Linked DNA regions of Homo sapiens: region 1 is linked to region 2. Evidence: promoter capture Hi-C in 16 types of primary human blood cells and fetal thymus (Javierre and others, 2016). All regions are on one chromosome and are shown on one strand. Each heading gives the region's core, a stretch centred on a gene start or on the middle of the fragment in contact. The rest is flanking DNA. Distances are from core to core; before and after follow the strand shown. Region 1 overlaps C1QTNF7-AS1 (C1QTNF7 antisense RNA 1). Region 2 holds the start of C1QTNF7 (C1q and TNF related 7).

Region 1 (4,803 bases), core at 1,858-4,357, 170 kb after region 2:
ATTCCCTTATATGAGACAAGTTACATTTATCTTCTTTCAAAATCCTCTCTTTGACTTTGACTTTTGGCAATTTAATTATAATGTCTGTCAGTATAGACTTCTTTGTGTTCAATGTATTTGAGGTCCTTTGGGATTCTTGAATCAGGATGCCCATTTTCTTCTTCTGATTTGATCATCTTTTGGTCATTATTTCTTAAATAAATTTTCTTTTTTTTCTTTGTCTTATCCATCTCGAGCATTCGTAATGCATGTATTAGTTTGTGTAATGGTGTCCCATAAATTTATTGTCTTTCTTCATTGTTTTTAACATTTCTTTTTTCTCTTATGACTGATAAGAATCAGCAAACTCAAAGACAGATCATTTTATTGATCAAAATGAATTTTTAACTTCATTCATTGTATTCTTCAGCTCTATAATTTCCATTGAGTTCTTTTTAACGATTTCTGTCTTTCTTTAGCTTCTAATTTTTTTATGCATTGTTTCCCTGACTTTGTTGAGTTGTCAATCTGTGTTCTTTTGTAGATCACTGAGCATTTTAAAAATAATTATTATGAATTCCTTGTCAGGCAATTCACAGATCTCCATTTTGTGGGGTTGTTTACTGGAATTTTTTTGTTTTTTGTTGGTGGTGTCATGTTTCCTTCTTGTGTGTATCCTTGCATGGGTGTCTACCTATTTGGAGGAGCAGTCACCTGTTCCAGTCTTTGGGGACTGACTTTGATAGGAAAATTTTTTTACCTGTAGGTGGACACAAGGGCACTGGCTGGTTGGTCTGCATAGTGGTGTTGGATCTGGCATCAGATCCAGGGATGTATAGGGATGCAGGTTCCAAGAGTGCATTGAGGCACTGGTTCTGAGGATGTGTAAGCGTTCTAGTTTGGGGGCATGTAGCAGTGCTGGGTCTAGTGGGGGTGTGGTAGCATTGGATCTGGTATGTATGCAGTGGGGCTGGGTCATGGGTTTTCCAGCAGTGCTGGGGTCTGGTGTGCATGTGGAGGCACTGGATCCAGGGGCTGTTTGGTGGTGGTGCCAGGTCCAGAAGCCAGGGGCATGTATAGCTGCTCTGCATCCAGGTTAGTATAGAAACATGATTTCTGGGCCATTCCATCAGCTGGGATCTGTGTTGTTGAAGACTGTGGGAGTCTTTGGCAGAGAGAGCTGATAGGGGTTTTCTATTTTTATTTTCCTCTATAAGGAAAAGCCACATCCAAGGGGATTCCTTTTGTTACTGAGTTGTGCCAGCTAGGGGACAAGGTGACACAGGTAAGATACTTCCTACACTTTTATATGTGGCCATCTCAGTTTTAGTGCTTGACTGTGTTGCTCTAGCTTCTTAATTTTACTTTACAATTCTCCCAGAGCTATTTTTATCCATGAATGTTGTTATTGTTTATGTGGAGTATCTGTTTGTTTGGGCTGCTATAACAAAATACAGACATACCTCAGAGATATTGCAGGTTGTATTCCAGAGCACTGCATTAAAGTGAATATTGCAAGAAAGTGAGTCACACAATGGTTATGGTCTTTCGGTGCATATAAAAGTTATGTTTATACTATACTGCAGTAAATTAAGTGCAAAATAGCATTATGTCTAAATAACAATATACGTACCCTCATTAAAAGATACCTTACTGACTGGGCACAATAAAGTACTGTGGCTTATGCCTGTAATCCCAGCACTTTGGAAGGCTGAGGTGGGAAGACTGCTTGAGCCTAGGAGTTTGATTCCAGGCTGAAAAACACAGCAAAACACCATCTCTACAAAGAAAAAGAAAATTACAAAAAATTAGCCAGGTGTGGTGGCACATGCCTGTAGTCCCAGCTGTTCAGGAGACTGAGGTGGGAGGATCACCTGAGTCTGGGAGATTGAGGCTGCAGTGAGCCATGATTATGCCACTGCATTCCAGCTTGGGTGATAGAGACCCTGTTTCAAAAATAAAAAATATAAAATAAAAAAACTCAAAACAAACAAAAAATACTGTGTTGCTAAAAATTGCTAACAGTCATCTGTGCCTTCAGTGAGTCATAATCTTTTTGCTGGTAGAGGGCCTTGCCTCTGTGTTGATGGCTGCTGACTCATCAAGGTGGTGATTGCTGGAGGTTGGGTTGACACTGGAAATTTCTTAAAATAAGACAACAATAAAGTTTGTCACATTAATTGACTTATTTCCAGAAAAGATTTCCCTGTAGCATGCAATGCTGTTTGATGGCATTTTACCCACAGTAGAACTTTTTCCAAAATTGGAATCAACCCTCTCAAACTCTGTTGCTGCTTTATCAACTAAACATATGTATATTTTACATTTTTTGTTGTCATTTAAACAATGTTCACAGCATCTTCACCAAAAGTAGATTCCATTTCAAGAAGCACTTTCTTTGTTCATTCATAAATGCAACATGGATGAGACTGGGCACGTTCAGGGTGGTATGACCATAGACTATAAGTGCAACTTCATACCCTTTCAAGTTTTATTATGAGACTGCGCAATTCAGTCACGTCTTGAGGCTTCATTTTAAATTCTAGTTCTCCTGTTATTTCTGCCACATCTGCATATGCTTCTTCTGTTGAAGTCCTAAACCCCTCAAAGTCATCCATGAGAGCTGAAATAAACTTCTTCCAAACTTCTGCTAATGCTGATATTTAGACATCCTCCCATAAAATGAATTTAATGGCAGCTAGCATGGTGAATCCTTTCCAAGTTTTCAGTTTACTTTGCCCAGATTCATCAGAGGAATCACCATCTATGGTAGCCATACCCTTATAAATGTACTTTTTAAATAATATTTGAGAGTAAAAATTGCTCCTTGATCCATGGGCAGCAGAAAGGATTCTGAGTGAGCAGGTATAAAAACAACATTAATCTTCTTGTACATTTCCATCAGAGCTCTTGGGTGATCAGGTACGTTGCTAATATGCAGTAATATTTTGAAAAGAATATCTTTTCTTTTTCTAAGCAGTAGGTCTCAACAGTGGTTCTAACATATTCAGTAAACTGTGATATAAACAGATATGCTGAAATCCAAGCTTTGTTGTTTTATTTATAGAGCACATGGAGAGTAGATTTGGCATAATTCTTACTGGCCCTAGGACTTTCAGAATGGTAAATGAGCATTGGCTTCAACTTAAAGTCACTAGCTGCATTAGCCTCTAATAAGAGAGTCAGATTGTCCTTTAATTAAAGCTTTGAAATCAGGCATGACTTCTCCTGTCTAGCTATCAAAGTCTTAGATAGCATCTTCTTCTAATATAAGGCTGTTTTATTAATATTAAATATCTGTTGTTTAGTGTAGCCACCTTTGTAAATATTCTCAGCTAGATCTTCTGGATAACTTGCTGCAATTTCTCCTTCAGCAATTGCTGTTTAATATTGCAATTTTGTTATGAAAATAACTTCTTTCCTTAAACCTCATGAACCAACCTCTGCTAGCTTACAATGTTTTTCTACAGTTCCTTCAGTCTTCAGAGAATTGAAGAGAGTTAGGACTTTGCTCTGGATTAGCCTTTGGCTTAAGGGAATGTTTTGGCTGGTTTGATCTTCTATTAAGATCACCAAAACTTTCTCCATATCAACAATAAGGCTGTCTCGCTTTCTTATCATTTGTGTTCACTGGAGTGCACTTTGAATTTCCGTCAAGAACTTTTCCTTTGTGTTTACAACTTGAGGCTGTTTGGCATGGGCTTTTGGCTTATCCTGGCTTTTGACATGCCTTATTCACTAAGCTAATTGTTTCGACATGTGACTCTTCCTTTCACTTGGACACTTGAGGCCATGCTGGGTTATTAATTGGCCTAATTTCAGTATCATTGTGTCTCAGGGAATAGAGACACTCAAGAGCAGAAACATAAATGGGGGAACTACTGGTCAGTGGAGCAGCCCGTGCACACACAACATTTATCGATTAAGTTTGCAATCGTATATGAGTATGATTTGTGCTGCTCCCAATCAATTGCAATGCTAACATCAAAGATCACTAATCACATATCACCATACAAATATAATAATAATGAAAAAGTTTGAAATATTGTGAGAATTACCAATATACGACATAGTGACATGAAGTGAGAATGTGCTGTTGGAAAAATGACAGATAAACTTGTTCGATGCAGGATTGTCACAAACCTTTAATTTGTGGAAAAGGTAATATCTGCCAAGCTCAATAAAGCAAAGGGCAGTAAAACAGGTATGCCTATACCATAAGCTGGGTGGCTTGTAAACAACAGAAATTTAATTCTCACAGTTTTTGAGACTAGAAGTCTGATATCAGGGTCTCGGCATGGCCCAGCTCCTGGTGAGAGTTGCCTTCTGGATGGCAGACTGCCTACTTCTTCTTGTGTCATCACATGGTAAATGAGATGAATTATCCATCTGGAATCTCTTTTATAAGGGCTCTAATACAAATATTGAGGCTCCGCCCTCATGATCTAATCTCTTCCTAAACGCTCCACTTTCTAATACTATCACCTTGGGGGACAGGATTTCAATGTATGAATTTGGTATTGGGGGAGGTGGGCAGGACACAAACATTCAGCTCAAAGAATGGTGGGATGAGGGCTGGAATCTCCTACTGCACCATTTTGTTGATGTCACTCCCTGAAATATTTATTACCAAATTGCTGTTAAACATTCAGGAAGTGGCTACTCTCCCCATATATGAAATACAAAAATATTATCAAGCAGAACAACTTTGGGATTCAGATGAGGGAAAGAGCAGTTTATGACTTGGAGTGTCTGGGAAAGAAGGTTCTGTGAAAGATCAACTGGATTCAAGACTATCTTTAAAATATGCTGTTGGGACCTGAA
Region 2 (5,017 bases), core at 964-3,463:
CCATCCTATTTTTCTGTAGGGATTACAAAGTAACAGGTTTTTGTTTTTAAAACACATTTAAAAAATTTAATTTGTGTTAGTTTAGATTCAAGAGGCTCCATGTTCATGTGCTTATATTTGAGGCAGAAATGTTGTATATAGTATTTTGTGAATTTATTTAGTCATGGAGCCCTTTGTTCTCGCTAAACTAGCCATGGAAAATACTTGGAGAAATACTGATTAACTCAGTACAAAGATTGAAATCCTGGAAAACATGTTCATAGATTGAGATCCCTTTGTAAATAGCATATTATTTTTTCCCCAGTGTAAGTAGACTCCAAGTATATTTTTTTCTTGGAAAAATAAAATATGTTGGTGGTGGGAATGTAAAATGGTGCAGCGCCTGTGGAAAACAGGATAGTGATTCCTCAAAAAAATTAAAGAGAATTACCATATGATATGGCAATTCCACTTTGGGGCATATATCCAAAAGAAGTAAAATCAGGGACTCAAACAAATATTTGCACATGCATGTTCGTAGCAGCAAGGACTCAAACAGATATTTGCATAGCCATATCTGCAGCGTTATTCACAATAGGCAAAAGGTGGAAGCAACCCAAGTGTCCATGGAAAGGTGAATGGATAAACAAAACCTGGTCTACACGTACAATGGAATCTTCTTCAGCCTTAAAAGGAAAGGAGATACTGACACATGCTACAACATGAGGAACCCTGAAGACAGTATATTATGTGAAATAAGCCAGTCACAAAAGGACAAATATTGTGTGATTCCTCTTACACAAAGTTCCTAGAGTAGTCACATTCATCAAGACTGAAAGTAGAATACTCACTGTTGGAGGAGGAAGGGAAGAGGGGAATGGGAATTTATGGTTTCATGGGTATAGAGAGTTTCAGTTTGGGAAGACGAAGAAGTCCTGGAGAGATGGTGATGATACTGCATAACAAAATGAATGTATTTAATGCTGCAGAACCGTACACATAAGAATGGTTGAAATGGTAAATTTTATGATATGTATATTTTACCATAATTAAAAAAACTGAATAAAAATGAATTGGAATGCAGGGAGAGCCCAGTATTCTTATTTCTGTGCCAGGTGTTTTAAGGACATCTTTTACTTTATCCTCACACCACTTGTTATGAAGTAAGTGCTATTACCTTCACTTTATAAGTAAGAACATTGATACTCTGTGGGCTCAAGTCCACACAGGCATGAAATGGTGCAGCCAGAATTTGTACTGAGTTCTTTTGTCTTCAAACACTTGAGTTTGTCCCTACATCATGTGAGGGAAACTATAACATATTACTTCATGACAAAGGGCTGGACTTGATAATTAATTCAAGTTGAAAATGTGCTTTGCCTGGAAATCATTAAGAAGAGAATAGGTAACCAGGAAAAGCCAAAACGGGACATTTTCTTGGCCTGCAGAGGTGGAGATTTCACAACAGCAAGCTCTGTGTTTCTCTTGTTGCACTGGGAGTGGCACTGTGATTGGGACAGGATGGAGACCTGAGCTGCTCATGCCTCAGTTCCTTTTATGTTGTTGTTCACCAGTTCTTTGCTTTTGGGGGCTCCAATTTTCCTCTGCAGAACTGCTTTTCCTGTTTGCCATGAATTAACCTCCTTCTCCTCCTGGCACTACTCAAGTCCCTGCAAGGCCACACAATTGCACTGTGTTATGGCTATCTATTGACTTGCTTGTTTCCCCACTAAAATGCAAACTCTAGGACAGAGACTAGTCTACAGTAGAGGCTCAATGAAGAAAAAAAAATTCATCAATATTTATTATTGTCAACAGTTCATTATTGATAAAGTTTTGACTACTTTATGGCACAGTGATTAAAAAAAACCCTGACATTTGCAAAACATTTTATATCCTAGAGAGCAATGCTAAGCCCATATCGTCCTCCCCAAAACCATCTTGTGGTAGGTTAGATGGGGAACCAAGGTCCTGAGAAGTCCCGCAACTTGTCTATGGTTAGAAAGCTAGTGTCAGTCCAGAGACTTGAAGCTAGGTCTTCAGTTTTATGGATTCTTCCTACAGAGCCATCTGTTTAATAAGCTAAAAAGCTCCCGTCACGAGAACAGGCCATTGCATCTACATTTGCCAAAATTCTAAAAAAAAGAGTAAACACCATACCTTGCTCTTAGATGGTGGGCTGCTGCAGGATTCTAAATCCACAAGAGACTGAGGATCTTTCATGAGAGCTCAGTGAAAAACTTGCTTTGGTACCAGACAGAATAACAGATCCAAATTCTCAAAGATTTCCAAATAGTTGTGCTAAAAATAATTTTCTCGTTTAGTCCCAAAGAGCCAAAGGCCCTGGAAGTCATTCATCGAGTGAGGCTCAACTCGGGGACCAGTTAAAATTACAGTTTTGTTTGGGATAAACTTTAAGTGCCTGCTTTCCTTCAGTGGTAAGTTTAGAGCTTCTCCATCTCTGTGTGTTGTGGCCTCTTTTTCAGATTTGTTTACTTAATTTTTTCCCTCTTCATTTGTTTTCCACTGAGTGAATGTTTCAGGAAAAAAATTACTCACTGACTGGAAATTAGTTGTTAACTTAGAGAAAAAAGCCATTTTATATTTGAGAGTTTTGGAGGTAGAGCCTTTAGATTCTGGACCTAGGATGGTGTCTTGTGGAATAATGAACACTGTCCCTATTCTTGGTAAATATGGCAGGAAAATAGCCCCTCATTCTATGTGCTGTGCAAAGAAAGAGGGTTATGAGAATTGCACTGATTTTGTTTTCTTTGTTCTTTGCTGAATGGATAAATGATTGGGTATTTTTAGAAAACTAATATGTCTTTGTGCCTGTAAAGAACTGATCATAACATCTCAAAAGGCAGAATGATTCTCCAAAGCATATGACTAGTCGTCTATGGTGCAATCAATTTCTTTGTTTCCTTCTGCTATGTATTTCTTATATTTCCTTGGCAACAGCAATATATAATTTATGATGTCATTTATGGAAATTAGACGACTGAAAAAAATCTTGTTTTTATCTTTCTTTTCCTCTCATTCTTCTCAAGCAATGAGAACTCTAATTGAAAGGAATGTTTCCAGAGTTAGTGAAGTGGATGTTGACCACACACTTGACCAACGAGATTGCTGGGCTCCCCGTTCTGACCAGCTTAATTTTGCCTTTGGGATCCACTCTCCACACTGGAGGAAATGGTCCTTTGAATTTGTTGGCTTTCCAAAATCTTAATGCCATCATAGGATGGTCAAAACAATGTCTTGAGCATAGAAGCTAGTCATAACTTATTGCTAAATTAGAGTCAGATTTTAATCAGATAAAGTCTCTGTGTCTGTTTTCTCACTTTCAAAATAAGATGGTTGTCCTTGATTATTTCCAGGGTTTCTCATAGTTCTTAATATTCTCGAACCAAATGATGGTGTCTGATGTCACCCATTTACAAGCTTAATTTCAGGTGATACAGCCTTTTAATATGTTCATTTATTTGTTTATAAGTGATAACTTCTTAAGTGGGCTTTTTCCATTATGTCTGCTTTGGAGTAGCCCAGTCTCTGCCAGGGAGCTCAGAAGTGGATGAATTTGTAGACCAATAAAAGAATAGATGCATTCTTATTTTTCTGCCTTAAAGTGTTGATACAATTTGTGGATATTCATATTTTCTTTTCTGTGTCATTCACAACTTCTCTAATTTCTCTTTAATGTTACTTACCACATAAAATAAGGTTTTTTGTATCATTAAAGTATTACAGTATTTTTTCTGTTCTTCAATAAAAATTGAATTTCTTCTTTTTCTTCTTTATTATTTTCATCCCAGATAATTTATTGTAATCTGTGTCTTTCTGAACTCATTCTTTTTCCCAGAGAGAATGAACCTTTGAAAATGTCTCTGAGAGTGTTCAGAACCTCAGATGTTGATAAAGCTTGTCAGTGTCTATTTCACTCAGTTATTTTCACACTTAGAAGCAGTGGTGAAGTGATGGGTAGAAAAATATGCTTAAGGAAGTATTGGCTCAGAGTAAAAGTCAGATTCCATTTTTACCTGCCACTCACCCCAAGGACGGGGTCTTATTTTGTCTTTCCTAGGCAGATAATCTTCCTTTCTCAACTTGTGCTCTTTTTTACCCCATATCCTTTATTTACTTTTCAACTGAATTCATTCCATTCCATTCCAATCCCATCAGTGTTCCCAGAGCACCTAACAGTTTGCCGCTAACCTAGCTCTCAAAAAGAAGGTTCAGATTTGTAGCTTTTGTTAGTTTTCTTGGAGTGAATACCCCCGCCATGGTCAATTTCAAGCTAACAATCTGACCTTCACTGAATGCAGAGTTGGAAAGTTATAGAATGTAGAATTGTAGAATTCGCACTTGCTGGCAGGTATAAGCCAGCTCTGCTCACCACTACACACATACATACACACACACTCACACACCATTTTTCTAGGTGGTAGAAGTATTTTAAAAAGAAGGTTCTAGCTGATATGTAATGAGCATGTACAACGTGCTAAGACATGACAAGCATCACTTTCTTTAATCCTCATCATAACCTCTTGAGGTGAGTAATTGTATTATCCTCCTTCTACAGATGAGTAATTTAGACAGTCTGATCCACAATTGACACACCTAACTACTTACCATATTTCCTCCCTAGGTTGTTGCTAACTTTAAAAGACCATGTTTTTGCATCCAAACAACTTGCAGTTGCATACCCTCTGTTTCTTCCTCCTCCTCTCCATGGGTGCCCTGGGTTCTGTTAGGAATTGAATCTTCTCTTTGTAACCTCAGTGCCTTGCTTATATCATCTCCAGTAGCTGCAAGCCATTACCAACCATGTCTCCCCTATGCCTCTTTCTCCATCTGTTCACATTTATCTTCTGTATGCATCACTTTCTACAGAAAGTCTCCCTGATATTCTCAAGCAGGCACAACCCTGTCTTCTCCTGAACCCTTCTAGCACGTAATTTGGATCTGCCATGCACTTTAGCTCACTGGCTCTTAACTAGATCTACTGAATGAGCATATCAGTAGATTAAGTTAGGCATTA

What was found. Contacts are between HindIII fragments. The CHiCAGO score rates a contact against its expected background, and 5 or more counts as called.
Region 1: a fragment that was not itself captured here is called in contact with the fragment with the promoter of C1QTNF7 in region 2 in 2 of 17 cell types (M1 macrophages and naive B cells); the score reaches 6.0 in M1 macrophages.

The regions. Positions count from the first base shown.
Region 1 is chr4:15,259,858-15,264,660 of GRCh38, reverse strand. It overlaps C1QTNF7-AS1 (C1QTNF7 antisense RNA 1), which reads left to right. Exons shown (of 6, transcript NR_125911.1): 2 at 1,197-1,264. Among named protein-coding and RNA genes, the nearest start is that of C1QTNF7-AS1, 170 kb to the left of the region's middle. The HindIII fragment of the contact is 157 bases long and covers 3,029-3,185 here.
Region 2 is chr4:15,425,229-15,430,245 of GRCh38, reverse strand. It overlaps C1QTNF7 (C1q and TNF related 7), which reads right to left and starts at 2,213. Exons shown (of 3, transcript NM_031911.5): 1 at 2,140-2,213. C1QTNF7-AS1 (C1QTNF7 antisense RNA 1) reads left to right here and starts at 2,332. Exons shown (of 6, transcript NR_125911.1): 1 at 2,332-2,417. The HindIII fragment of the contact is 5,402 bases long and covers 1-3,422 here.